Linked DNA regions of Homo sapiens: region 2 is linked to region 1. The links are contacts of gene promoters, found by promoter capture Hi-C in blood cells and fetal thymus (Javierre and others, 2016). All regions are on one chromosome and are shown on one strand. Each heading gives the region's core, a stretch centred on a gene start or on the middle of the fragment in contact. The rest is flanking DNA. Distances are from core to core; before and after follow the strand shown.

Region 1 (6,346 bases), core at 2,288-4,787:
AGTCGTGCCACTGCACTCCATTCTGGGCAACTCTAAGAGCGAGACTCCGTCTCAAAATAAATAAATAAATAAAAGGACGTGAAAAACAAGTATTATTATACAGTTGTGAATGGGCAAATAAATAGAAGTGCCTTAAAACAGTGGTCCCGGACCTTTTTGGCACCAGGGACTGGTTTCATGGGAAGACAATTTTTCCACCTGCTGCTCACCTGCTGTGCAGCCCAGGTTTGGGGGTGCCTTAAAACACACACACTTACCTTTGGACCCAACAATTACACTTCTAGAAACCTTTGGGCTATGTCGCAACGTCACAAAGTTATTTTATAATGCTAAAAATCATCAAATACACAAATCTCCCCCTACAGATAGGTTAATACAGTCATTCTAGCCAAATATTCAAATGTGTAACTCTATTAAAATACTGCACAGAAAATTGACATCCAAAAATGTGCTTAATATTTAACTAGGTTAAAAAGAGGCTAACAAATTCTCTATACAGTATTATACTATTTGCTTTATTTGTATATTTTGATGATATATACAAAAAGACTAAAAACCCAAACTTAACTTTAGTGGCTATCTCTGGAGGCTGATGTAGGTTTGACTGTTGGAGTGGGGTGAGGCAGCAAGATGATCTTTGTGTATGCTTTTCAGTGTCCTATAGATTTCTTGCATTAAGCATGTTATGAAAGAACACTAAATGTTTAGAACAGTAGTACTTTGCTATACAAACCCATGATCAACTGCAGAACTCAACAGCGCCTCTCTTGCAGCCTTCGTGGCTTCTCTCCAACCCGCTATGATGGTCTGTGGATGAATCTTTTTTGCAATTAAAGATTCTGCTTCCTATTAATAAAGTTATAAAACAAAAGTTATAAATAGAAAATTATTAAGCACTCCTCAATAGTAAAGACAGAGGAAGTAAGGACTAGATTACCTCTGATACTCAAAAACACAGTAGGAAAAAAGAGTTGCTTAGTTGCTCTTACCCTTAATAATTCTGCTGCTAAAACGGTAACAGAGGTAGTGCCATCACCAACTTCATCATCTTGAACCCTTGACATATCTAGAAAAAGAAATTAGTTATTAACTCAAAATTGCTTCTTTGCTTACTAAATTCTCCAAAAATATTCACTACCAATCTAAACTTACCAGGGTTCCTCATTCAACAAATTATTTGGAACTCTGAGGTCTGAAATGCAACAGTTTTACCACCAACATACGGGCACTCCTGAAGCTTGTATTTTAACAACGATAATTAACAACTAGTGGACATCAATTGACAGTACGATTGGTCAACACAGCCTATTTATAAAGTTATTTCAAAAATGTTAACAAACAGTATTATTAGGTTGGTGAAAAAGTATATTCAGACTTACCAACTAAAACTTTAGCTGCTGGATTGTCAACACCAATGTTTTTTAGAATAGTGGCACCATCATTGGTTACCATAAGAGAGGCATCTCGTCCACTGCTTAGAAGAATTTTGTCCTAAAGGGAACATAATTGGTTCAAGTTAAGACATAAGCACATCTTGAAGAATGCATGGATCAATCAGTATTCTCACACAGTGCTAGTGTATAAACACTCTGGATAGCTATTTTGTGGTATCCATTCATCAAATGTTTTCAATACATACACCACGTAACCAAACCATGTATCTACCCCTAGAAACACTAGAAGCACAGGTAGACACTAGTTTTTGTTTCAACACCGTAACTGCAAAAACAATGGAAAGAAACTATCAATACAGCCATAATTAAATTATAAAATAATTAAGGTACAGGATAATATTTGACAGTTAAAGGGGCAGTGTTATCTACTTACACTGAAAGGAATTTAAAAGAGCAAGCTACAAAAAAGTATTGATAAATAGTATCTGTTTTATAAAACAGTATGTTACATGAGTATAAAATACATAATGAAGTACACATACTTCTACATAAACAGAATATTAGAAGATGTACGTGCAAATGATAACAGTACTTGTCATTGGGGAGGGGCATGGGATTGGGGATGGTGATTCTGGGGACTCTGATTTTTACTAAGGAGAACATACTTGTCTTTTATAATTAAACGTTTTAAAGATTAAAAAGCATTTTAATACGCTTGTTATTATATTTCCACCAAGCGCTCTAAAACAATATTAAAATATAAAACTTTTCTATTTTTCTTACCATGCCTTTGGGTCCCAAGGTGCTCTTTACCAAGTCTCCAATGGCGATGGCACCAATAAAAGAAGTCTGGAGTAAAAACCAAGGAGATTATCAGAATCAACTTTACAGTCTTCAAGTACAGTTTTATCTTTATTTACTTTTTTTTTTTTTTGAGGCAGAGTGTCGCTCTGTCGCCCAGGCTGGAGTGCAATGGCGCGATCTCAGCTCACTGCAACCTCCGCCTCCTGGGTTCAAGCGATCCTCCTGCCTCAGCCTCCCGAGTAGCTGGGATTACAGGTGCCCATCACCACGCCCGGCTAATTTTTGTATTTCTAGTAGAAACGGGGTTTTACCATGTTGGCCAGGCTGGTCTCGAACTCCTGACCTCAGTTCATCCGCCTACCTCGGCCTCCCAAAGTACTGGGATTACAGGAGTAAGCCACCGCGCCTGGCCTCCAGTTTTATCTTTAAAACAATGCTTAGAACAAGGCTTACCAGACGAGCTGTCTCTGCTCTCTCTTCATCAGCTCCTGCCTTAAAGATGTTAACAGGTGCAAGGGAAAGGGACGCCTGAAAAGGAAAACCAAGAGGCATTCCGTTTAAGTACCAATACTCTAACACATACACTGAGGTGCCTTCCACTAGTCTTACAAGTGGACATCTAAGAGAAAACTCATTTACAACAATGTTTTCAATCAAATGAAGCTTCCATCATCGGAGAAAGCATTTAAGTGGGAGAGAGGGACTTGTAGGAGAGCGACATGGCTTTTCGGATTTACAAGGCCCCCGGGAGTATAAATTATACACCAGCGAGATTGACAGTTACGTACAGCGAGACTAAAGACGATCTTGAACTAAGAATGAGGCAGGGAGGGGTTGCAGGCCATCAAGGTGACGCCTGCCGGGCGGGCGAGGGAACGCGGCCTCCATCTTCCACCCTCGGAAGGCTGCGGCCCCTCCACCCTCTGATGGCTCAGACCCCGTCGCTCCAGGCTCCGCCCCTAGAAGGAGGGCGGAGCGGGTCCCACACTAGAAATTTCTTCGCTCCGGGTGAGGCGCGGACCTGGGCTGCCGGGACTATGCAAAGACCTAGGCACAAGGAGACGCTGGCTTTGCGGTCCACCCCTCCCCCTCGTGGTGAGCTCCACCGGCTGGCCTGGCGCAGGCCGCACGCCCCGCGCATGGCTCGCACCATGTGCGGAGGGCCGGGGAGACAGAAACGGAGCCTACGACCCTAGCAGGACAGAGGAAGCAGTGGGGTGGCAAGAGCACGGCGGAGCAGGGGTAGGGCAAGAGGCAGGGGAGTCAGGCTCACCATGGTTCCGAGGAGTTCCGCACACAAGTGAATCCCCTCACAGCTCGTGCTCGGGACCAGCGGACTGAAGGAAGCCGGAAGTGACGCCACACGCCCTACTTCGGGGGGCGGGGCCCCGGCCTGTCGTTACCGCCAGCAGGCGTCCCATTTTGATTGGAGCCCCACGGGCCGGAAACGCAGCCTTTCACACTGGAGGGGGCGTGGCCGCCGCTCCAGAACAAAGAGGCGGCTGCCGCGCGGGTTGCCATAGAAATGGAGTTCTTGCTCACACTTTTTATTTTCTTAAATTTAATCTTTAAACACTTCTATTAAAGTCACACATGTACACAGTTTAAAGTGTTATATACCAATAAGGAAAAACATAATTTATCTGCCTCACCACTTCCTGTCTCCAGGAAAACTGCTTTCAACTTTTTCAGTTTTTTGGAGGGGCTATTTACTATCATATTCCCAGATAATATTATTGCTATGTTAATTTTAAACATTATTTACTGAGTATTACAGAAGAAGACTTCCTTTTCTCTTACTGAATTTTCAGACGTTATTTCTAACTGGACGTTGACTGCCCAGGATAAGGTCTTGTGAACTGAGAGAGACATTTATAGTATTTTATCTTTGCCCTATTTACTCATTTTCAGGAATTTTTGCATTTCGGTCTTTTTTTTTTTTTTCCTCCAATAGTAGAGACGACTTATTAGTCTTTGTTTATAATAAACTGAAATATTTGGGACTGATCTTGATGTCTGCCAAAACCTTGGCAGACATCAAGATCAGTCCCAAATATTTCAGTTTATTATAGACAGTTTTCTACTTTCTCTAAGTTGACGGATGTCTAAAAATTTGTTCTCTAAAAAATTTTTCTGTCATCTACTGATACCCTCTTTTCTCCCTTTGACTAACTGATCGCTTAAGCTCCTCGGCAGGGCGCGGTGGCTCACCCCTGTAATCCCAGCACTTTGGGAGGCCGAGGTGGGCGGATCACCTGAGGTCAGGAGTTGGAGACCAGCCTGGCCAACATGGTGAAACCCTGTCTCTACTGAAAATACAAAAATTAGCCGGGCGTGGTGTGCATGCCCGTAATCCCAGCTACTCAGGAGGCTGAGGCAGGATAATTGCTTGAACCCGGGAGGCAGAGGTTTCAGTGAGCCGAGATCACGCCGCTGCACTCCAGCCTGGGCAACAGAGCGAGACTCTGTCTCAAAACAAAAACAAAACAAAACAAGCTCCTGGATTTTTCTTTTTCTGTTTTGTTTTTTTTAGAGATGGGGTCTTCTATGTTGCCCAGGCTGGCCTGGAACTCCTGGGCTCAAGCAATCTTCCTGCCTTGGTCTCCTGAGTAGCTGGGGTCTCCTGGATTTTTGACATTGCTAACATTAACAGGAATTTTCAATTTTTTAGTTGTTTCTACCCTTCAGATTTCCTCTAAGTGGGTTGATTTCCACCAGGGGTTGGCAAGCTGTGAGGAGTCAAACCCAGCCTGCCAGTTGTTTTTTGTATGGCCTGAGAGCTAAGAATAGTTTTTACATTTTTAAGTGGTTGAAAGAAATCAAAAATTTCCTGACACATGAAAATCCTGTGAAATTAATATTTCAGTGTCCATAAAGCTTCATTGGAATCCATGGGCATACCCATACATATTTACTCTGTCACAATACGATAGCAGAGTTATGTGGCAGAGTTGAGTAGTCATGACAGGTTGAATGGGCCCACAAAACCTAAAACATGTATTATCTAATTCTTTACAGAAAAAGTTTGCTGACCCTGGTTTACAGTATTCCTCAGGTCCAACATGAAAAGGGGAGTTCAGGCTGGACAAATTGTTATTTTAAATCTCCCAAGAGTTTTCTCTTCTTTGTAGGAAAATTTGGTCTTCTTTCAGGAAATGTACTTTCCTAGGCAGATCCCAAATCGCATTCTGGAATGAGAAGATTCACAATAAAAAACTAAGATGCCTGCACAATATTGAAAAAGGTTGTTTTTATTGTGGGCAAAATTACATACCTGGAGATATTTATTATGTCCTCTGGTAGGCAAGCCTGAGACTGTGTGTGATGGGGAAACCAATGACTGCTCCCTGCTGGGCTTTGAATGTAGCCAGAGGCATTTGGATGGGGAGAAGGAGGCAGGCCCTGCCACCTTGTGGAACTGAGGCTAGAGGCAGCCAGGAAGAGACTCTATGATGGGACCCTTGGAAATGTGTCCTTTCTCCATTGCATCTTTTGACCCTTCCTTCTTTCCTACTTCCCCCTCCTTTGATGACACCTCTACACCTAGAGGCTAAACACTCAGCTTCTAGACCCAGACTATATGAGTTTGAATTTCAACCATTTTACGTACTAGCTTTGTAGTCTTGGGTGGGTTTCACAGGCTCTTTAAATCAGTTCATTGAAGGCCATTCAGAGCGTGATCAATGTGCTGGTTTACCAAAAACTGTCTCTTTTAGCTGTTTATACTTTTTTGTTGTTGTTGTTGTTGTTGAAACAGAGTTTCACTCTGTCGCTCGGGCTGGAGTGCAGTGGTATGATCTCAACTCACTGCAACCTCCGCCTCCCGGGTTCAAGCAATTCTCCTGCCTCAGCCTCCCAAATAGCTGGGACTACAGGCATGCACCACCACAGCTGGCTAATTTTTGTATTTTTAGTAGAGACAGGGTTTAACCATGTTGGCCAGGGTGGTCTCGAACTTCTGACCTCAAGCAATCTGCCCACCTCAGTCTCCCAAAGTGCTGGGATTACAGGCATGAGCCACCACACCTATATATATATTTTTTAATTGAGACAGGGTCTTACTCTGTCACCCAGGCAGGAGTGCAGTGGTGTGATCTCCACTCACTGCAACCTCTGCCTCCTGACTTCAAGCGATCCTCCGACCTGTC
Region 2 (6,346 bases), core at 1,007-3,506, 3.3 Mb after region 1:
ATCCACCCACCTCGGCCTCCCAGTGGGCTGGAATTACAAGTGTGAGCCACAGCACCCAGCCAATACATTGTTTTTATATTAAAACAAATAAGGATATATTATGTAAAATGAAAAATTGACATGAATAAGGTAAAGAATAAAACTTAAAAGTAAGTCTACCTTTGAGGGGACAGGTTGGTTGGGCAATACTTCAAGATTCCATAGGGCATTCATGCCTTCTTCCTGGAAGTATGTGTGTTTCAGTGGAAATGTTGATATAATTAATTGACACTGTGTTGAGCCTTTGCCTTTAAATGTTACAAAGTAATGACCCCAATCACCTTAATTACAATTCAATTTACTTTACATTATTATGTATGTTTTTACCCATGCTAAAACATTTGTAGGGCTAAATTCATGCCTTTATATTTCTGTTTCAGCATATGAGTTTGTAAGTTGTAGGAGAGTATGTTCGTTAAAAAGTACTACCTTGGCCAGGTGCAGTGGTTCATGCCTGTAATCCCAGCTACTAAGGAGGCTGTGGCAGGAGAATCACTTGGAGGTGGAGGTTGCAGTGAGCTGAGATCGTGCCACTGCACTCCTATCTGGGTGACAGAGTGACACTCCATCTCAAAAAATAAAAATAAAAACAAAAGAACTGCCTCCCAATGAGCACGGTGGCTCACACTAGTAATTCCAGAGTTGTGGGAGGCCGAGGTGGGAGGATTGCTTGAGGCCAGCAGTTTGAGACCAGCCTAAGCAACAAAGAGAGACCCCATCACCACACACACACACACACACACACACACACACACACACACAATAATAAGCTGGGCATGGCGGTGCAAACCTATAGTCCCAGCTACTTTGGAGGCTGAGGCAACAGGATCGTTTGGGGACAGAAGTTCAAGGCTTCAGTGAGCTACGATTGTGCCATTGCACTCCAGCCCGGGTGACATAGTGAGACCCTAACCCAAAAAATAAATGAAAGAAAAGAAAAGAAAAGAAAAGAAAAAGGAAAAAGAAAAAGAAAAAGAATTGCTTTCCTAAATACATTTTCTGGAAGCTCCTTTCCTAACAAACATGCCATGGTTGAGGTGAGCACTAAAACAAAAATGCATCAACTCTGCTACCACAGAGAGATGGAGCTGGGGATCAGTTTCTAGCTGATCATGTTGGTCTTTGTTAGGCATTTTATGAAAACTATTTATCTCATCCTATATGATAAGTATAACTTTTTAAAAAGCAAACATTTGCAAAGTATTACTAAGAAGTAGATGACTACAATTCATTTATTCAGTCAATACATATTTTAGGATAGTTACTGTTCTGGGTACTGGAGAATAACAGTAAACAAAACAGACCAAGTCCTTGTACATCCTAAGAAGGAGCAAGGATCCATCCTAAGAAGGAGCAAGGATCCATCCTAAGAAGGAGCCAGGGAGCAAGTAAAAGTAATATCAAATGATGATGAGAACCAGAAGCAAAGATAAAAGAGAGAAAGGGGATAGAGAGTGCTATGGTTTGAATATTTGTCTCTTGCAAAATTCATGTTGAGGGCCAGGCGGCATGGCTCACGCTTGTAATCCCAGCACTTTGAGAGGCTGAGATGGGCAGATCACTTGAGATCAGGAGTTCCAGATCAGCCTGGCCAACATGGTGAAACCCCATCTCTACTAAAAATACAAAAAGTTAGCCAGGCGTGGTGGCACACACCTATAATCCCAGCTATGGAGAGGCTGAAGCTCGAGAATTGCTTGAACCCAGGAGGCGGAAGTTGCAGTGAGGCAAGATAGCGCCACTGCACTCTAGCGTGGGTGACAGAACAACACTCTATCTCAAGAAAAAAAAAATTCATGTTGAAACTTAATCCCCAATGTGGCAGCACTGAGAGGTGAGGAGGGTCATGAGGTATATTCATTTCATATCATTTAAGAGGTGATTGGGTCATGAGGTATCTTCCCTCGTGAATAGATTAATCCACTCATGGATTAATGGGTCAATGGATTAATGGGTTATCATGGGAGTGGGACTGGTGGACCTTGAGAGCTTGTTTGGAGGTTCTAGCAGGGGAGCGCAGTTGCCCGTATACCCTTGACCGAAGACCAGTCCTCTTCTATCAGGGATGGTAATCCTCTTTCACCGAGCACAGCTTTGGGAGGGACACACATGGAGTGGTGAGGGAGGAAGGGGACAACCGCCTAGCTGGCCAGATCAGCCAAGTCAACTCGGGCTATCAATGGGGTGGCAGATGTCACAGACAGATCACCCTCACATCCAGGACTGGTAGCTTTATGAGAAGAAGAGAGACCTGAACTAACATGTTCAGTCCCCTCACCATGTGATGCCGCCTGTTGCTCCACCAGCAAGAAGGCTTTCACCAGATATGTTCTCTCTACCTCAGACTTTCCAGCCTCCATAACTCTAAGTTATAAACAAATTCCTTTTCTTTATAAATTATCCAGTTTTAAGTATTCTGTTACAAGCAGCAAAAAATGAACTAACACAGAGCATGACTGTAGTGAGGTTTTGCTATTTCAGATAGAATGATGGATTGAAACCAAGGTAGAGATATTAAAAATTGACAATGAGATATTGTGTTGTATGGGCTATGGAATGAATTATTGAATAGAAGGAATGCAAATCAGGGAACATGTGAAAAGTGCTATGCTTATGCAATCTATAATCATCAATAGATGAAGACTGACTTTCTGGAATAGAAATATATTTGAGCATTCCACAGAGTCACTCTTGTTGCAAAAGATAAACTACATTCAGATCAGCAGGTCTGTTTTCCTGATTTATTTTAAATGGCTGGAAATTTCCTCCATTTGTGACAAGATTTCATATACAACATCCACTTCTGGCCAAGAAGGGAGAAAATCATCCTGCATTGGAGAAAAGTGAGATATGAAGAACTAGGTTGGAATAATGATGAGCAAAAAGGGAAAGAATGACTGAAAGGGAGACAGGAAGGAGAATGTGGAAAGATAATGTGATGAAGATATGGACAGCAGATGCAGGGGAGTTTCAAAAGAGTTGGAAAATTCTCCTTTAAAAAACAAAGCCATAATGCAGTAATAACTCGTGTTACACAATGCAGAATTCATTAAAGAATGCAAAATCTCTGAGATTTTATTTTTGATGTAAGAAAACATAGGCTGTGAGTGGTGGCTCATGCTGTAATCCCAGCACTTTGGGAGGCCAAGGCGGGTGGATCACCTGAGGTTAGGAGTCTGAGACCAGCCTGGCCAACATGGTGAAACCCATTCTCTACTAAAAATACAAAAAATTAGCCGGGCGTGGTGGCAGGCACCTATAATCCCAGCTGCTCGGGAGGCTGAGGCAGGAGAATTGTTTGAATCTGGGAGGCTGACGTTGCAGTTAGCGGAGATGGTGCCACTGCACTCCAGCCTACGTGACAGAGCAAGACTCTGTTTTTGTTTTTGTTTTTTTTCTGAAAACAAACAAACAAAAAAACCCCAGAATTTGGAGAGTACAAAGACAATGCTTTCACACTCAGAAAACAGAACAATTTTATATATTTAACTTCCTCCCTTAATTATAAACAACAACAATTATAATGGCTAATACTGAGTGTTTACATTGTGCTTTCCACACATCACAAAGTCCTCTCCTTCAATTAACTCATTTACTCTTCACAAAAGCCTCATGAAATAGTTAACATTAAAGCATCTATCTTACTTATGAGGAAACTTCTGCTGAGAGGTTAGATAACTTGCTTAAAGTTGGGAGTGGCTGAACCATGACTTGAACCTAAGAAGTCAGGCTCCAGTGACCGTGCTCTTTGCTGCTACATGTTCAGGCACAGCTCTGTGTTCTAAATATCTCTGCATGCACCCAGGAACCAACCTGGGGCTGTGAGGAGGCATACACTGCAGCATAGTATCAATCTCCTTGATTTGTTGCCTCTCTTTTGTTTGAGATTTGTAAAACAGATACACACTTCTCTGGGACCTTAGGGTAAAACCACAACAGTTGCAAAGTTACCACAACCTCTTGTCATCTCTAAGTGACAAATAACTTGAATTGCAAGGTTACTTGTTTTTTACACTGCTGCTGGATGAGCCTGTAAGAACTCTGTACACAGGGGTCTAAGATAAATAGCACATTGATATGGCTTGGCGGTGTCCCCACCCAAATCTCATCTTGAATTGCAGCACCTGTAATTCCCACATGTCTTGGGAGGAACCTGGTGGGAGGCAACTGAATCATGGGAGTGGGTCTTTTCTGTGCTGTTCTCGTGATAGTGAATAAGTCTCGTGAGATCTGATGGTTTTAAAAAGGGGAGTTCTCCTACACAAGCTCTCTTGCCTACCACCATGTAAGACATCCTTTGCTCTTCCTTTGTCTTCTGCCATGATTGTGAGGCCTCCCTAGCAATGTGGAACTGTGAGTCCATTAAACCTCTTTCCTTTTAAATTACCTGGTCTCAGGTCTTTAAATCAGTCTTTATTCACGGCGTGAGAACAGACTGATATATGCTACATACAGGATAAATAAATGTTCTTTACCTCTTTCCTGGGTGGCTCTGTTTTGGAGAGATTATTGTTGGCTGACATCTTTCCCATAATATTTGGCCATAAGTTTTTATTTTGAGAGAAACTACTTTTGTCCAACTCTTCAAAAACTCCACCTATGATCTCTTTGCTAAATGATATCATTGTTGAAGTACAGCAGTAAGCACAAGATTTAAGCATTTCTGATTTAAGCACTACTCCCCGAATTGTGTTTTTCCTGGTTTTCTGAAATATCTCTATGAGGGCCAGGCATGCTGGCTTACGCCTGTAATCCCAGCACTTTGGGAGGCAGAGGTGGGTGGATCACTTGAGGTCAAGAGTTCAAGACCAGACTTGCCAACATGGTAAAACCCCATCTCTACTAAAAATGCAAAACATACAAACATCAGGCAGGCATGGATGGTGGCAGGTGCCTGTAATCCCAGCTACTCAGGAAGCTGAGGCAGGAGAATTGCTTAAACCCAGGAGGCGGAGGTTGCGGTGAGCTGAGATCACACCACGGCACTCCACCCCAGGCGATCCCCATGTCACATTCAGGGCCATCCCTGGGGATATTTTGCAGGTGCTCTGTCATGTAAACAGCTTAAGCCATTCCAAATCTATCTGTCGATACCATTTCAGTAGCTCAACTGCACAGAAACCTTAAAATACATACATACATACATACATACATACATACATACATACATACATACATATATGCATACATACTGTATTACCCAACGGGAGTTACTGGCTTGCCAGGTCACCCTCCCAAAACCTGGGCCTGGCCAGAGAATACCAGAGTGACTGTATAGGCAGGCTTCATGGAACTCCTCAGTGTATCTGGTTGACCTCATCCATGGGACAGAGGGTTAGAGAGCACCCCAAATGGAAGAACAAGGATGGGGGCCCACATGGGGTTCCAACCCAAGTTTGCAACACCCCACCCAGATGGCACTGCCAATATCAGCTGGTCCCAAGTACCAGAGGAAGTCTTAGAAGATTTGAGGAAAGCACTTCAAAGAATGGAGTCCCCTGAGGCCAGGTTAAGAACCCTGCTTACTCCAGTGTAAGAGTCATACCAACACCCGACTCTATACCTTTCTCCCCTAACTTATTATGACTTCCTCCTGATTGGCTGCACAACTTCTACATTCTTTCTTTTTGTGTCAATCAACCTCATAGTGTACATGTATTATTAATATATTACTATCTTACACTGCACCTTGTTCCTTCTTATTGATTTTATCAAACATAACCTCCTCTGTTGTAGTCCTCAATTAGATATGGTCTAGACCCAATCCCCTCTCATCTACTCAGGGATATCACTTCAGCAATTCTCCCTTCTTTCTTATATCATTTACTTTTCTCTTTTTTGAATTATTTCCATCAGCACACAAAAATACAGTTGCCTTTGCCATCTCAAAAGATCCTTTCTTTGGGAGGCCGAGACAGGTGGATCACTTGAAGTCAGGAGTTCAAGACCAGCCTGGTCAACATGGAGAAACCCCATCTCTACTAAAAACACAAAAATTAGACCAGGTACAATGACTCACACCTGTAATCCCAGCACTTTGAAAGGCCGAGGCAGGCGGATCACCTGAGGTCAGGAGTTCGAGACCAGCCTGGCCAACGTGGTGAAACCCCATCTCCACTAAAAATACAAAAAATTAGCCAGGCATGGTGGCTTCGGCCTGTAGTCCCATCTACTCTGGAGGCTGAGGCAGGAGAATCGCTTGAACCCAGGAAGGAGAGGTTGCAGTGAACTGAGATTGCACCACTGCACTCCAGCCTGGGCAACAGGGTGAGACTCCATCTCAAAAAAATCAATCAATATAAATAAA

What was found. The method cuts DNA at HindIII sites, captures the fragments that hold promoters and counts their contacts. A CHiCAGO score of 5 or more calls a contact.
Region 2: a fragment that was not itself captured here is called in contact with the fragment with the promoter of CCT2 in region 1 in 1 of 17 cell types (total CD8 T cells); the score reaches 6.4 in total CD8 T cells.

Annotation. Positions count from the first base shown.
Region 1 is chr12:69,582,650-69,588,995 of GRCh38, reverse strand. CCT2 (chaperonin containing TCP1 subunit 2) reads right to left here and starts at 3,537. Exons shown (of 16, transcript NM_006431.3): 1 at 3,472-3,537; 2 at 2,652-2,726; 3 at 2,178-2,243; 4 at 1,380-1,491; 5 at 990-1,066; 6 at 734-846. The coding sequence starts at 3,474. It overlaps MIR3913-1 (microRNA 3913-1), which reads left to right and starts at 4,173; the gene lies at 4,173-4,274. It overlaps MIR3913-2 (microRNA 3913-2), which reads right to left and starts at 4,273; the gene lies at 4,174-4,273. RefSeq lists an enhancer at 3,167-3,506. The HindIII fragment of the contact is 2,214 bases long and covers 2,864-5,077 here.
Region 2 is chr12:66,288,595-66,294,940 of GRCh38, reverse strand. It overlaps the pseudogene RN7SKP166. Among named protein-coding and RNA genes, the nearest start is that of HELB, 11 kb to the left of the region's middle. The HindIII fragment of the contact is 9,012 bases long and covers 1-6,346 here.